4 separate regions of the Homo sapiens genome follow, and all the other regions are linked to region 4. The links are contacts of gene promoters, found by promoter capture Hi-C in human tissues and cell types (Jung and others, 2019). All regions are on one chromosome and are shown on one strand. Each heading gives the region's core, a stretch centred on a gene start or on the middle of the fragment in contact. The rest is flanking DNA. Distances are from core to core; before and after follow the strand shown. Region 1 holds the start of PIP5K1C (phosphatidylinositol-4-phosphate 5-kinase type 1 gamma). Region 2 overlaps TJP3 (tight junction protein 3). Region 3 overlaps APBA3 (amyloid beta precursor protein binding family A member 3). Region 4 holds the start of NMRK2 (nicotinamide riboside kinase 2).

Region 1 (2,700 bases), core at 33-2,532, 230 kb before region 4:
CACCATGTCTCTTGCTGGCCAGGCCAGGACACCGGCTGCCCGCAAAGAAAGGGGCGAGGCCACTGGCTCTGGGGAAGGAACCGGGTCACCTACCAAGCGGTTCCAGATGGCCGCCGGGAGGGAAGCCACGAGTGTCTTTCAAGGCGGGGGGTGGGGGGGGGACTTGATGACTTCCACACTCTCTCTCTCTCCAGACATCTCCCCAACTCCCAGGCAGCACGCATCGCCCGCCCGCCCGCTTGCCCGCCTGCCAACCAAGGAAGCTTCGGGAGGCCTGGGGGGAGAAGGAGGACGGATGCCCGTGTGGGTGTCTACAGAGACGCTGCTGCTGGCTGCCTGGGAGGAGCAGAGGATTTTGTGAATCCGGAAACTTCCGATTTGGGAGCTTGTGACCTCGACTGAGAAGGAACTGTTCCCTTCCTCTGGGCTCTGCACACCGTCCCCACAGAAGGGAAGGCCCAGCTGCCGCCACCTACCCGGCTGGAGGTCCAGGAAGCAGCTAAAGGGGGCATGAGACAGCCGTGCCCCCCGCCCAGCCCGCAGCCCCACCAGTGTGTCCTGGGGGAAGGCTCGGGGAGAGGAAAAGGGGGCGACAGGGCACCCTGTGTGCACAGCCGGGGCGGTGGAGGCATCTTGAGATGTAACCCTTTTCCTCCCCTCATTTTAGCAGGGAGGTAAACTGAGGCCCAGGAAGGTGAGGAAAGGTCGCGCACCCGGACTCAGGTCTGGGGACTTACAGAAAGGGAGGTGACATCAGGAGGTGGGCACGCACGGCCTCAGAGACCCCCGCCTCCACCCAAGCAGCCGCCACTCACACGACGGGCAGCCCCTGGGAGCGGGTCAGGCAGAACGGGGATCCCCAGCGGCGCCCACGCCGAGTCGCCCCCGGCCCGGGAGCGGTGGGAGGTAGCCCCTCGCAGGCCTCCCGCTTCCCGGCGCGGCTTCAGCCCCGTCCTCCCCGCGGCTCCAGGGGACTGCCCCGCCCCAGGCTCCTGGAACCGGCGGCGCCCCCGCAGCGACCGTGCAGCCCCCGCCCCGGCCCCGCAGCCCCGCGACTCTCGGCGCTCGGACGAGCCCAGCGGGCCGCAGCCCCGGGAGGCCGGGCCGTTACCTGCCGCCGCCCCGCTCTCTGCCGCCCACGCCGCCTCCGAGGGCACGGCCCCCGCCTCAGCGCTCTCCGCCTCGTCCGGTACCTCCAGCTCCATGGCCGCGCGCGGACGGCGGCGGGGGCGCCCGAGGGGGACCCGAGCTGCGACCGCCGCCGCCGAACAACAAGCGCCGCCGGCCAAGGGAGGGCGCGCCGGGCCGGCGCGGGGCGGACGGGGCGGGGCCTGCGTGCGTGCGACGCCGCGGACGGCGCGCGGCCAATCGGGGCTCGGGGGCGGGGCCTGCTTGCGACCCGCAGCCAGGAGCGCCTCGAGTGCCCCCTCGCGCCCAGGGGTGGGAGTACAGAGCCAGGCTCGCCATTCCATCGTATTAGGTCAGTAAGATTGACAGGCACGATACGTATCAATAACATTGCTGTGCACAACACATACCAATAACATGGATCTACACAACACATGACAATAATATGGATCTATACAGCACGTGCCAATAATATGGATGTACACAGCACATGCCAATAACATGGATCTAAACAGCACATGCCAATAACAGGGACCTGCACAGCGCATGACAATAACATGGATCTGGCCGGGCGCGGTGACTCACGCCTATATTCCCGGCACTTTGGGAGGCCGAAGAGGGCGGATCACCTGAGGTCAGGAGTTCAAGACCATCCTGACCAACATGGTGAAATCCTGTCTCTACTAAAAATACAAAAAATAGCTGGGCGTGGTGGCACATGCCTGTAATCGCGGCTACTCGGGAGGCTGAGGCAGGAGAATCGCTGGAACCCAGGAGGGAGAGGTTGCAGTGAGCTGAGATCGCACCATTGCCCTCCAGCCTGGGCCACAGAGTGAGACTCTGTCCCAAAAAAAACCACACATGGACCTACACAGCACATGCCAATAACATGGAGTTACCCAATGCATGCCAATAACATGGATATACACAATACATGCCAATAACACGGATATGCACAATACATGCCAATAACATGGATATACACAATACATGCCAATAACATGAATCTATACTATATCATTGACATGGATCTACATAAAACATACAAATAGCATTGCTATATGCAATACATGCCAATCACATTGCTATACACAATGAATACCAATAACATTGATCTACACAATACATGTAACTAACATTGATACACACACTACATGTCAATAACATTGATATACACACTACATGCCAATAACATGGATATACACACTACATGCCAATAACATTGATATACACACTACATGCCAATAACATTAATGTACACACTACATGTCAATAACATTGATATACACACTACATGTCAATAACATTGATATGCACAAAATATACCAATAACAGTGATATACACAGTACATGTAAATAATATTGATCTACACAGGGCCGGGCGCGGTGGCTCATGCCTGTAATCCCAAGACTTTGGGAGGCCGAGGCGGGCGGATCACGAGGTCAGGAGATTGAGACCATCCTGGTTAACATGGTGAAACCCCGTCTCTACTAAAAATACAAAAAATTAGCCAGGCGTGGTGGCGGGCGCCTGTAGTCCCAGCTACTTGGGAGGCTAAGGCAGGAGAATAG
Region 2 (2,866 bases), core at 234-2,733, 210 kb before region 4:
AGGGGGCCTGGTCCTATGGGGTCCCAGGGGCCCATCCCTGCCCATCGGGAGCGCTCAGACTGAGGGGGAAGGTGTAAGGTGGACAAATCCACTCTGACATCCCACACCCCAATCATCACATTTGGGCCAGAGGGAAGGATGTATGATATGCGTACGGAGGAAGAGGCTGGGGCTGTGAAGGATGAATAGGAGTTTGCCAGGGAGTCCAGTACCAGCACTCAAGGCCTGGAAAGGAGGCTGATGGCCAATCACCTGGGCCTTAAGTAGCCAGAGAGACAGACATGTCTCCTTTCACAGCCTAAGAGGAAAGACCAGAAACATACTAACCGATGGTTAAAGAGAATAAAGATGATTTTTAGATGCCTTGAATAAAAAATAATAAAACAGGCTGGGCGTGGTGGCTCACTCCTGTAATCCCAGCACTTTGGGAGGCTGAGGGAGGTGGATCACCTGAGGTCAGCAGTTTGAGCCCAGCCTGGCCAACATGGTGAACCCCCACCTCTACTAAAAATACAAAAATTAGCCGGGCGTGGTGGTTGGACGCCTGTAATTCTAGCTACTTGGGAGGCTGAGGCACGAGAATTGCTGGAACCCAGGAGGCGGAGGTTGCAGTGAGCTGAGATTGTGTCACTACACTCCAGCCTGGGTGACAGAGTGACACTCTGTCTCAAAAGAAAAAAAAAAAATATATATATATATATATATAAAATAATAAAATAGGCAGGAGTGATAGGGGATCAGAGAAGACTGGTTAGCTAGGTGGTCAGGGAGGACTTCCTGAGGAGGTGGCATTTGAGCCTAGACCTCAGTGGCAGGGGCCAGCCAGGCAGGAATCCCGTGAAACATGTCCCAGATTCAGGGGACAGATGGGGTAAAGGTTTGGAGGTGAACTAAGATGAGGTGGGCTGTGAGGTTAGGCTTAATCCCTCAGGCACTGTGGAGCTCTGGAGGGTTTAGACAAAGCTTCTGGTTTCCATGGAGACGAACCCGCACAAGCTGGGACAAGCCTGGACCACCTGGACTCCCTCGCCCCTCTCCCACTCTGGGTTCGGGGGCCCTGGTTCCCTGGGGCTGTCTCTTTTTTTTTTTTGAGACGGAGTTTCCCTCTGTCGCCCAGGCTGGAGTGCAGTGGCACAATCTTGGCTCACTGCAAGCTCCGCCTCCCAGGTTCACGCCATTCTCCTGCCTCAGCCTCCTGAGTAGCTGGGACTACAGGCGCCGGCCACCACGCCCTGCTAATTTTTTGTATTTTTAGTAGAGACGGGGTTTCACCATGTTAGCCAGGATAGTCTCGATCTCCTGACCTTGTGGTCTGCCTGCCTCAGCCTCCCAAAGTGCTGGGATTACAGGCATGAGCCACTGTGCCCGGGCAGGGCTGTCTCTTAAAGTCAGGAAATACAAATTCCTTGGGGCCATTTAAAAATTTTTTTTGAGACAGGGTCTTGCTCTGTCGCCCAGGCTGGAGTGCAGAGGCACGATCACAATTCACTGCAGCCTCGACCTCCTGGGCTCAGGTGATCCTTCTGCCTCAGCCTCTCGAGGAGCTGGGACCACAGGTGCATGCCACCATGCCCGGCTAATTTTTGTATTTTTTTGTAGAGATGAGGGTCTCACTATGTTGCTCAGGTTGGTCTTGAACTCCTGGGCTCAAGCAATCCTCTTGCCTCGGTCTCCCAAAGTGCTGAGATTATAGGCAGAATCCACCGTGCCCGGCCCTGGGGCCATTTAATGACACAAAGTATAACATCAAAGCAGGTTAAAAAAAAAAAAGATGCAGTTTTGAAAAATAAGCTCAGAAGAAAAAGAGTAAATAATCAGAAAGCCACTGTAGCCTGGTGGTTAAGAGCAAGAGTGAGGCTGGGTGCGGTGGCTCACGCCTGTAATTCCAACACTTTAGGAGGCTGAGGTGGGAGGATCGCTTGGGCCCAGGAATTTGAGACCAGCTTGGTCAACATAGCAAAACCCCATCTCTACAAAAAAACAAAAAAATATGCTGTGTGTGGTGGTGCATGCCTGTGGTCCCAGCTACCTGGGAGGCTGAAGCAGGAGGATCCCTTGGGCCTGGGAGTTCAAGGCTGCAGTGAGCTGTGATTGAGCCACTGCACTCCAGCCTGGGCAACAGAGTGAAACCCCGTCTCAAAAACCAAACAACCAATCAACCAACCAACCAACCAAAAAAGAGCCAGAGAACAGGGCAGGCTGCCAAGTTCACCACTGTGCTGCGTGACCTCAGGCAAGTTACTGAACCTCTCTAGGCCCCTTTTAATCTCACCTCTAAAGTAGGAATAATAACTGTGCCACTTCCTAAGGTCACTCTGAGGATGAAATGAATGGGTCCACATCAAGCGCCTGCTTGCAGCCAGGTTCAAGACAGCCTGACCAACATGGTGAAACCCCGTCTCTACTAAAAATACAAAAAGTAGCTGGCTGTGGTTGTGGGTGCCTATAATCCCAGCTACTCGGGAGGCTGAGTCAGGAGAATAACTTGAACCCAGGAGGTGGAGGTTGCAGTGAGCCGAGACTACGCCATTGCACTCCAGCCTGGGCAACAAGAGCAAAAAACCCCATCTCAAAAAAAAAAAAAAAAACTACACAAGGAGAAAGTCATTATTTGGCCACCACCTCCCCAAGGCTCCTTCTGCTTTTTGCTTTTCAGGCATTGAATCTGTACCCTTTTCCCAAACCACATCCCTGCAAGACAGGGCAGCAGTGCCATTTCACAGATGGGGAGACTGAGGCTGGGAGAGGCCCCGCCATAGCTAGCACGGGTGGGCAGACTTGGGATTTGAGTCCAGTCCTGAGCGCTGCCCTGGCTCCTTCAGAACTGCAGAGCCCTGCCCTCTGCTCTGTTTCTCTCCCCTCCACC
Region 3 (2,970 bases), core at 136-2,635, 180 kb before region 4:
CTGAGGGCCCCCGAGCGCTCAGCAGGCCCCCCGTGCAGCAGGTTGGCGATGACGGCTGTGGGCAGCAGGGAGCCCCAGCCCGACTCCACCAGGGCCACGCCCAGGCCCTCCCCTCGCCGCTTCTCGAGGTGCACCTGGGACACACAGGGGGCGCGGAGGCTGCTCAGCAGGGCCCGGTGCAGGTGCACGGGTGTGGGGGGCACCAGGTGGGGGCTGCCCAGCACCTCACTCACCTCCCGGCAGTTGTCACTGTTGGAGAAGTGGTCCAGGTCCCCATTATGGAGGTGGCAGGCGCCTGGGCTCGGGTGCACGCCCACCTGGCTGGGGTCAATACCGCTTTCCCGTAGGAACTGGCTGTAGGCGGCGGCGAAGGCCTGGCCAATGGCCTGGGCGATGAGCTGGGCCTGCGGGGAGGAGTGGCGCGTCCCTGGGGTGTCCCACCCACCTCCTCCAGGTCCCCAAAGTCCCCAGGGTCCTCAGAGCTGAGCCCTCCTGTCCCCACCTGGGGTGAGAGTCCCAGGACACAGCCTTCTGCCCTGGGGCTTTGGGGGAGGTGGAGAGACAGCCGCATCTTGGGGAATCTACGGGGAGAAGGAAGGGGAGGGGCAGCCCTGGGCTGGGGGGACGATGAGGGAGGCAGCTCCCTGCGCATGGGCTGTGGGAAAAGCTATCAAAGACCCAGCCAGGGGGCCTGGGGCCTCATGGGTGGCAGGGACAGCCCAGGAGCGGGCAAGGTTTCGGGGAGTCGGCCGAGAGTCTTGGAGTCTTATAGGAGGCTGGACGCGGTGGCTCACGCCTGTAATTGCAGCACTTTGGGAGGCTGAGGTGGGTGGATCGCTTGAGCCCAGGAGTTTGAGACCGTGTTCACCTGGGCAACAGAGCGAGACCGTGTCTCTATAAAAAATACAAAAATTAGCCAGGCATGGTGATACCCCGGTGGTCCCAGCTACTAGAGAGGCTGAAGTGGGAGGATCGCTTGAGCCTGGAAGGTTGAGGCTGCAGTGAACTATGATTGCGCCACTGCACTCCAGCCTGGGTGACAGAAGGAGACCTTGTCCCAAAAAAAGAATTTAAAAATAAGCTTATGGGAGGGAGGTTAAATGCACGGCCCACTGAGGGAGGCGACAGTTGCAGTGAGGAGGGCCTCAGGAGGGTGGCCCCGCGCCCTGGCTGCTCACGTCCTCCGCGTAGAATACGTGGCAGAGCATCTTGTAGAGGCGGCGGCCGTGGTCCTGGGGTGCCGGCCTCCGTGCCAGCCGCCGCCGCGCCATCAGCACCAGCACGCAGCCGATGTCGGCTGTGTAGGAGATGGTATGCAGGGCGTGGTCCATCATGGCCTCCTGGGGCGGGAGAGGCAGCCTGGGTGGGTTGGGGGGCCGTGCCAGGCTCGATCACCCCACCCGCATCCCTGGGGCGGGTCCCTGCCCCGTACCTGGGAGTCCGCTGTCAAGACCTTGATCCTCTTGGTGGAGACGAACAGGTCCACCTCCGTCATGGGCTGGGTCTCCCCATCGGGGGCCTGTGGGTGGCGGCGTGGGAGGTGGAGGCCCCCACAGACCCAGCCTGCAGCCCACCCGCCTGCCCGCCCGGCCCCGGCCGCCCCCTCACCTTGACGCGGTCCATGGCCTCCCGGGCCTGGGCCATGCGCGTGCTGGTGGGCGGGTTCCGTTCCGACACCAGCTGGGTGGACCCCAGGTACCTGGCCCCAAATATGACACCGTCCAGGAGGTCTTCATGGTCACAGGGACCAGGCACTGAGGGCGACAGCGAAGAGGGTCGGCCCCCAGGGGCCCACTCCCACAGGCTCTGCCCCAGGGCTACGCTCTCCGAGATGGCCGGGAGACACAGTGTTCTAGCTGGTGGCTTAGCACTCTCCAGCCAGGAAGCACAGCCCACTGTTCTAGAACCATCCAAGCAGCCTGGCCCTCACAGGTCTAGAACCTTCTGTCCATCCCTCAAGGACTCGCAGGTGGGAAACCAGTGAGTCCAGGCCATGGCTGGATTCAAAGCCAGATCTAGCACCCACAGATACCTTCACCCCGTGTCCCCAGAATTCCATGATCAGGCCGGAACCAGACAGTCCCACTCCTGCTTTTTTGAGACACGGTCTCGCTCTGTCGCCCAGGCTGGAGCTCGGTGGTGTGATCTCAGCTCACTGCAACCTCCGCTTCCTGGGTTCAAACGATTCTCCTGCCTCAGTCTCATGAGTAGCTGGGATTACAGGCGCCCACCACCACGCCTGGCTAGTTTTTGTATTTTTAGTAGAGACGGGGTTTCGCCACGTTGGCCAGGCTGGTCTCAAACTCCCGACCTCAAGTGATCCACCCGCCTTGGCCTCCTAAAGTACTGGGATGACAGGCGTGAGCCACGACGCTCCACCCCCCACTCCAATTTCGAAACCTCCACAACATTCTAGAACCACAGTGGACCCCTGCTTCTTGGTTCTGGAATTCCCTCCATCAATCTAGAACTGGCCAGCTCTGCCCACTGTTCTAGAACCGTCTGCAGTCAGCCCAGGATAGCAGGCAGCTCTGTTCCCGGGTTGTAGAACCACTCAGAACAGAGACAGACCCTGCTGCCTGTCTAAAATTCCCATACTCTCCAGAACCCCAGCTGGTTCTGACCCTTGATTCCAGAACTCTCTGACAGGTCTCATAGCAATTCTGTCAGGAGTTTTAGAATCTTATTATCACTCTAGAATCAGACTTCTCTGCTCCGTGATTCCAGAACATCTTAATCACAATCGCGTCAGGCAGCTCTTCCTGTGGTTCTAGAATCTCCTTCAGTAGTTCACACCTTTGGCTACACCAGGGATTCTAAGAATTACCTGACCAGTCAAGGAACAAACAATTCTGTTCCAGGAGAATTCTAGACAGTTCCAGAATACTCCCAACCCAGCCCAGAACTACATAAAGCTTTACTCCTGGCTGGGTGCGGTGGCTCACGTCTGTAACCCCAGCACTTTAGGAG
Region 4 (3,007 bases), core at 84-2,583:
CACCTTCCTAGTCACTTCCCATCCTCTGATCACCCCCCTGCTCCTGGGCTATAATTTCCCACTTTTCCTTGTATTGGTGGAAAGGGAGAAGATTGAATTCAATCTCCCTCCCATACTACAAAACCCCATGGTAGTAGTCCCTCACCCGCCTCAACAAAGTCAGCCTTACTGTTTTAAGAAGCATCAGAAAAATTATTTTCTGGTGGGGAGAGGCGTCACATGCCTGTAATCCCAGCACTTTGGGAGGCCGAGTTGGAGGAATCATCACGTGAGGCCAGGAGTTCAAGACCAACCTGGGCAACATGGCAAGACCCCATCTCTACAAAAAATTTTAAAGTTAGGTGTGGTGGTGCGAACCTGTAGTCTCAGCTGCTCGGGAGGCTGAAGCAGAAAGATCGCCCCAGTGTGAGAAGTTGAGGCTGCAGTGAGCTGTGATCACATCACCACACTCCAGCCTGGGCCACAGAGCGAGACCCTGTCTCAAAAAATTCAAAAATGTAGGCTGGGCATGGTGGCTCACACCTGTAATCCCAGCACTTTGGGAGGCCTGAGGCGGGCAGATCACCTGAGGTCAGGAGTTCAAGACCAGCCTGGCCAACATGGTGAAACCCCGTCTCTACTAAAAATACAAAAATTATCTGGGCGTGTTGGTGCTCGCCTGTAATCCCAGCTATTGGGGAGGTTGACGAAGGAGAATTGCTTGAACCTGGAAGGCAGAGGTTACAGTAAGCCAAGATGGTACCACTGCACTCCAGCCTGGGTGACAGAGCAAAACTCTGTTTCAAATTTATTTATTTTTATTTTATTTTATTTTATTTTTTTGAGACGGAGTCTCGCTCTGTCGCCCAGGTTGGAGTGCAGTGGCACAATCTCAGCTCACTGCAACCTCTACCTGCCAGGTTCAAACGATTCTCCTGCCTCAGCCTCCCAAGTAGCTGGGACTACAGGCGTGTGCCACCATGCCCAGCTAATTTTTTTTGTATTTTTAGTAGAGACGGGGTTTCACCATGCTGGCCAGGCTGGTCTCGAACTCCTGACCTCGTGATCCGCCCGCCTCGGCCTCCCAAAGTGCTGGGATTACAGGCGTGAGCCACTGCACCCGGCTCCATCTGAAATTAAAAAAAAAAAATTAAAACATTTAATAAGAGAATACTTTTTCCCTTTACCAGTAGAAGAGAGAAGCAGCAGAGTGTCATTCCTCCCCATTACCCCCTCCCCGCCCCGCCGGCCCCCAGTCAAATGACTCCACCCACAAGGCAGGCACGGGATGAATGGTCCCTGGTGTCACGCTGAGATCCTGTGGCTGGGCCCCCGGTCACCTGGGCAAGGCTATCTTGTGATTCACTGCTAAGGATCTTAAGCCCACCTTGGCCCTGACCTCGTTGGAAAACGAAGCTCCCCGCAGGGTCCCGGCCTCTAGGGCTGCTGTGCGGGCGGGGGTGGGTGAGTTCGCTTCCTTGACGCCACGAGAACCAGTCTTAATGTCAGGGTCAGGCCATAGGACACAGAGAGCGGGATATTTTTAGGGAGGGAAAAGTGTGGGGCTGCTGATCTGAGCTCTCTGGCCAGGAGGAGGGAAGAGGGTGGGGGTGGAGAGGAGGGAGGAGGGGGTAAGAAGGGGAGGAGAGGGGAGGAGGGAGTGGAGAGAGGGCAGGGAGGTGGGAGGAGGGAAGAGGCAGCCCCCTGCCCGGCCAGCTCGTGACTAATTTAGGCAAAAGGCAGCCTGGAGCTATTTCCATTCGGCGGCGGGAACAGGTGCCGGCGCCTCCGCCCCATCCCCAGGGGCCGCCTCCCCCGGGGCGGCCTCCAGGCTGCCGAGACCTATAAAGGCGCCAGGTTTTCTCAATGAAGCCGGGACGCACTCCGGAGCGCACTGCGTGGTCGCACCCTACCCGGGCTGCCTTGGAAGTCGTCCCCGCCGCCCCTCCGCACCGGCATGAAGCTCATCGTGGGCATCGGAGGGTGAGCGCCGGGGGACCTGGTGGGCGGCCCTGCGGGGCAAAGCCCCCTGTGCGCGCAGAGGGGGAGGCCCGGGAATGAATGGAGGGATGCCTGGCGCCTGAGGTCACCTACACGCCGCCCGAGGTCAGAGTGCAGGGAGGATTTTCTGCCCTGGGGGTCTCGGTGTCCCCAGTGGGAAGGGGGGCTGGACACTGAGCCCAGTGTTTCATTTTTTAAATGGAAATGATTCCCGCCACCTTCCAATTATACTCAGCATAAAAAAAAAATAGACCAGACACGGTGGCTCAGGCCTGGAATCCTGGCACTTTGGGAGGCCGAGGCGGGTGGATCACCTGAGGTCAGGAATTTGAGACCAGCCTGGCCAACACGGTGAAACCCCGTCTCTACTAAAAATACAAAAATTAGCTGGGCACGGTGGTGCATACCTGTAATCCCAGCTACTGGGGAGGCTGAGGTGGGAGAATCGCTTGAATCCGGGAGATGGAGGTTGCAGTGAGTGCGATCATGCCACTTCACTCCAGCCTGGGCGACAGAGTGAGGCTGTGTCTCAAAAAAAAAATCAGTAGGGACAGAAAATTAACTAAAGCTCCAGTGAACCCTCCTCCCGCCTCGTGGCTGTCCTGGCTAAATCGGGGACTGACACGTGGGCAGGTGGGATGGGGTCCCCAAAATGTCATTCCACATGACTGTGCCTTTGGAGCCTCTCTCAGGCGACCTCAGGCTAGAAGAGATTCAAACTCTCTGTAACCAGCACGGCTGGCTTTGTGGGGCTCACACCCCCGCCTCAGAAGGGACGGGAGCTTGGTCTAATGCTAGCCGGACTCCCTCTTGAATTTCATATTTTTTGTTTTTTGGGGTTTTTTTTTTTGGGGGGGGGGTGTTGTTGTTGCCGTCGTAGTTTGAGACAGAGTCTTGCTCTGTTGCCCCAGGCTGGAGTGCAGTGGTGTGATCTCGGCTCACTGCAAGCTCCGCCTCCCGGGTTCAAGCAATTCTCCTGCCTCAGCCTCCCAAGTAGCTGGGATTACAGGCGTGAACCACATGCCTG

The links. Contacts are between HindIII fragments. The study calls those that stand out against the background at their distance.
Region 1: the fragment with the promoter of PIP5K1C here is called in contact with the fragment with the promoter of NMRK2 in region 4 in 1 of the 25 tissues and cell types used here (stomach).
Region 2: a fragment that was not itself captured here is called in contact with the fragment with the promoter of NMRK2 in region 4 in 1 of the 25 tissues and cell types used here (liver).
Region 3: a fragment that was not itself captured here is called in contact with the fragment with the promoter of NMRK2 in region 4 in 2 of the 25 tissues and cell types used here (aorta and dorsolateral prefrontal cortex).

Annotation. Positions count from the first base shown.
Region 1 is chr19:3,699,186-3,701,885 of GRCh38, forward strand. PIP5K1C (phosphatidylinositol-4-phosphate 5-kinase type 1 gamma) reads right to left here and starts at 1,283. Exons shown (of 18, transcript NM_012398.3): 1 at 1,112-1,283. The coding sequence starts at 1,205. RefSeq lists an enhancer at 340-1,123 and silencers at 822-961, 1,042-1,531. The HindIII fragment of the contact is 9,003 bases long and covers 1-2,700 here.
Region 2 is chr19:3,723,124-3,725,989 of GRCh38, forward strand. The region is part of intron 1 of TJP3 (tight junction protein 3); the gene reads left to right. Among named protein-coding and RNA genes, the nearest start is that of TJP3, 16 kb to the left of the region's middle. The HindIII fragment of the contact is 5,075 bases long and covers 1-2,866 here.
Region 3 is chr19:3,752,587-3,755,556 of GRCh38, forward strand. It overlaps APBA3 (amyloid beta precursor protein binding family A member 3), which reads right to left. Exons shown (of 11, transcript NM_004886.4): 4 at 1,609-1,754; 5 at 1,433-1,519; 6 at 1,179-1,340; 7 at 234-404; 8 at 1-134. Among named protein-coding and RNA genes, the nearest start is that of APBA3, 7.6 kb to the right of the region's middle. The HindIII fragment of the contact is 3,385 bases long and covers 1-2,970 here.
Region 4 is chr19:3,931,736-3,934,742 of GRCh38, forward strand. NMRK2 (nicotinamide riboside kinase 2) reads left to right here and starts at 1,334. Exons shown (of 8, transcript NM_170678.3): 1 at 1,334-1,443; 2 at 1,723-1,962. The coding sequence starts at 1,937. The HindIII fragment of the contact is 37,457 bases long and covers 1-3,007 here.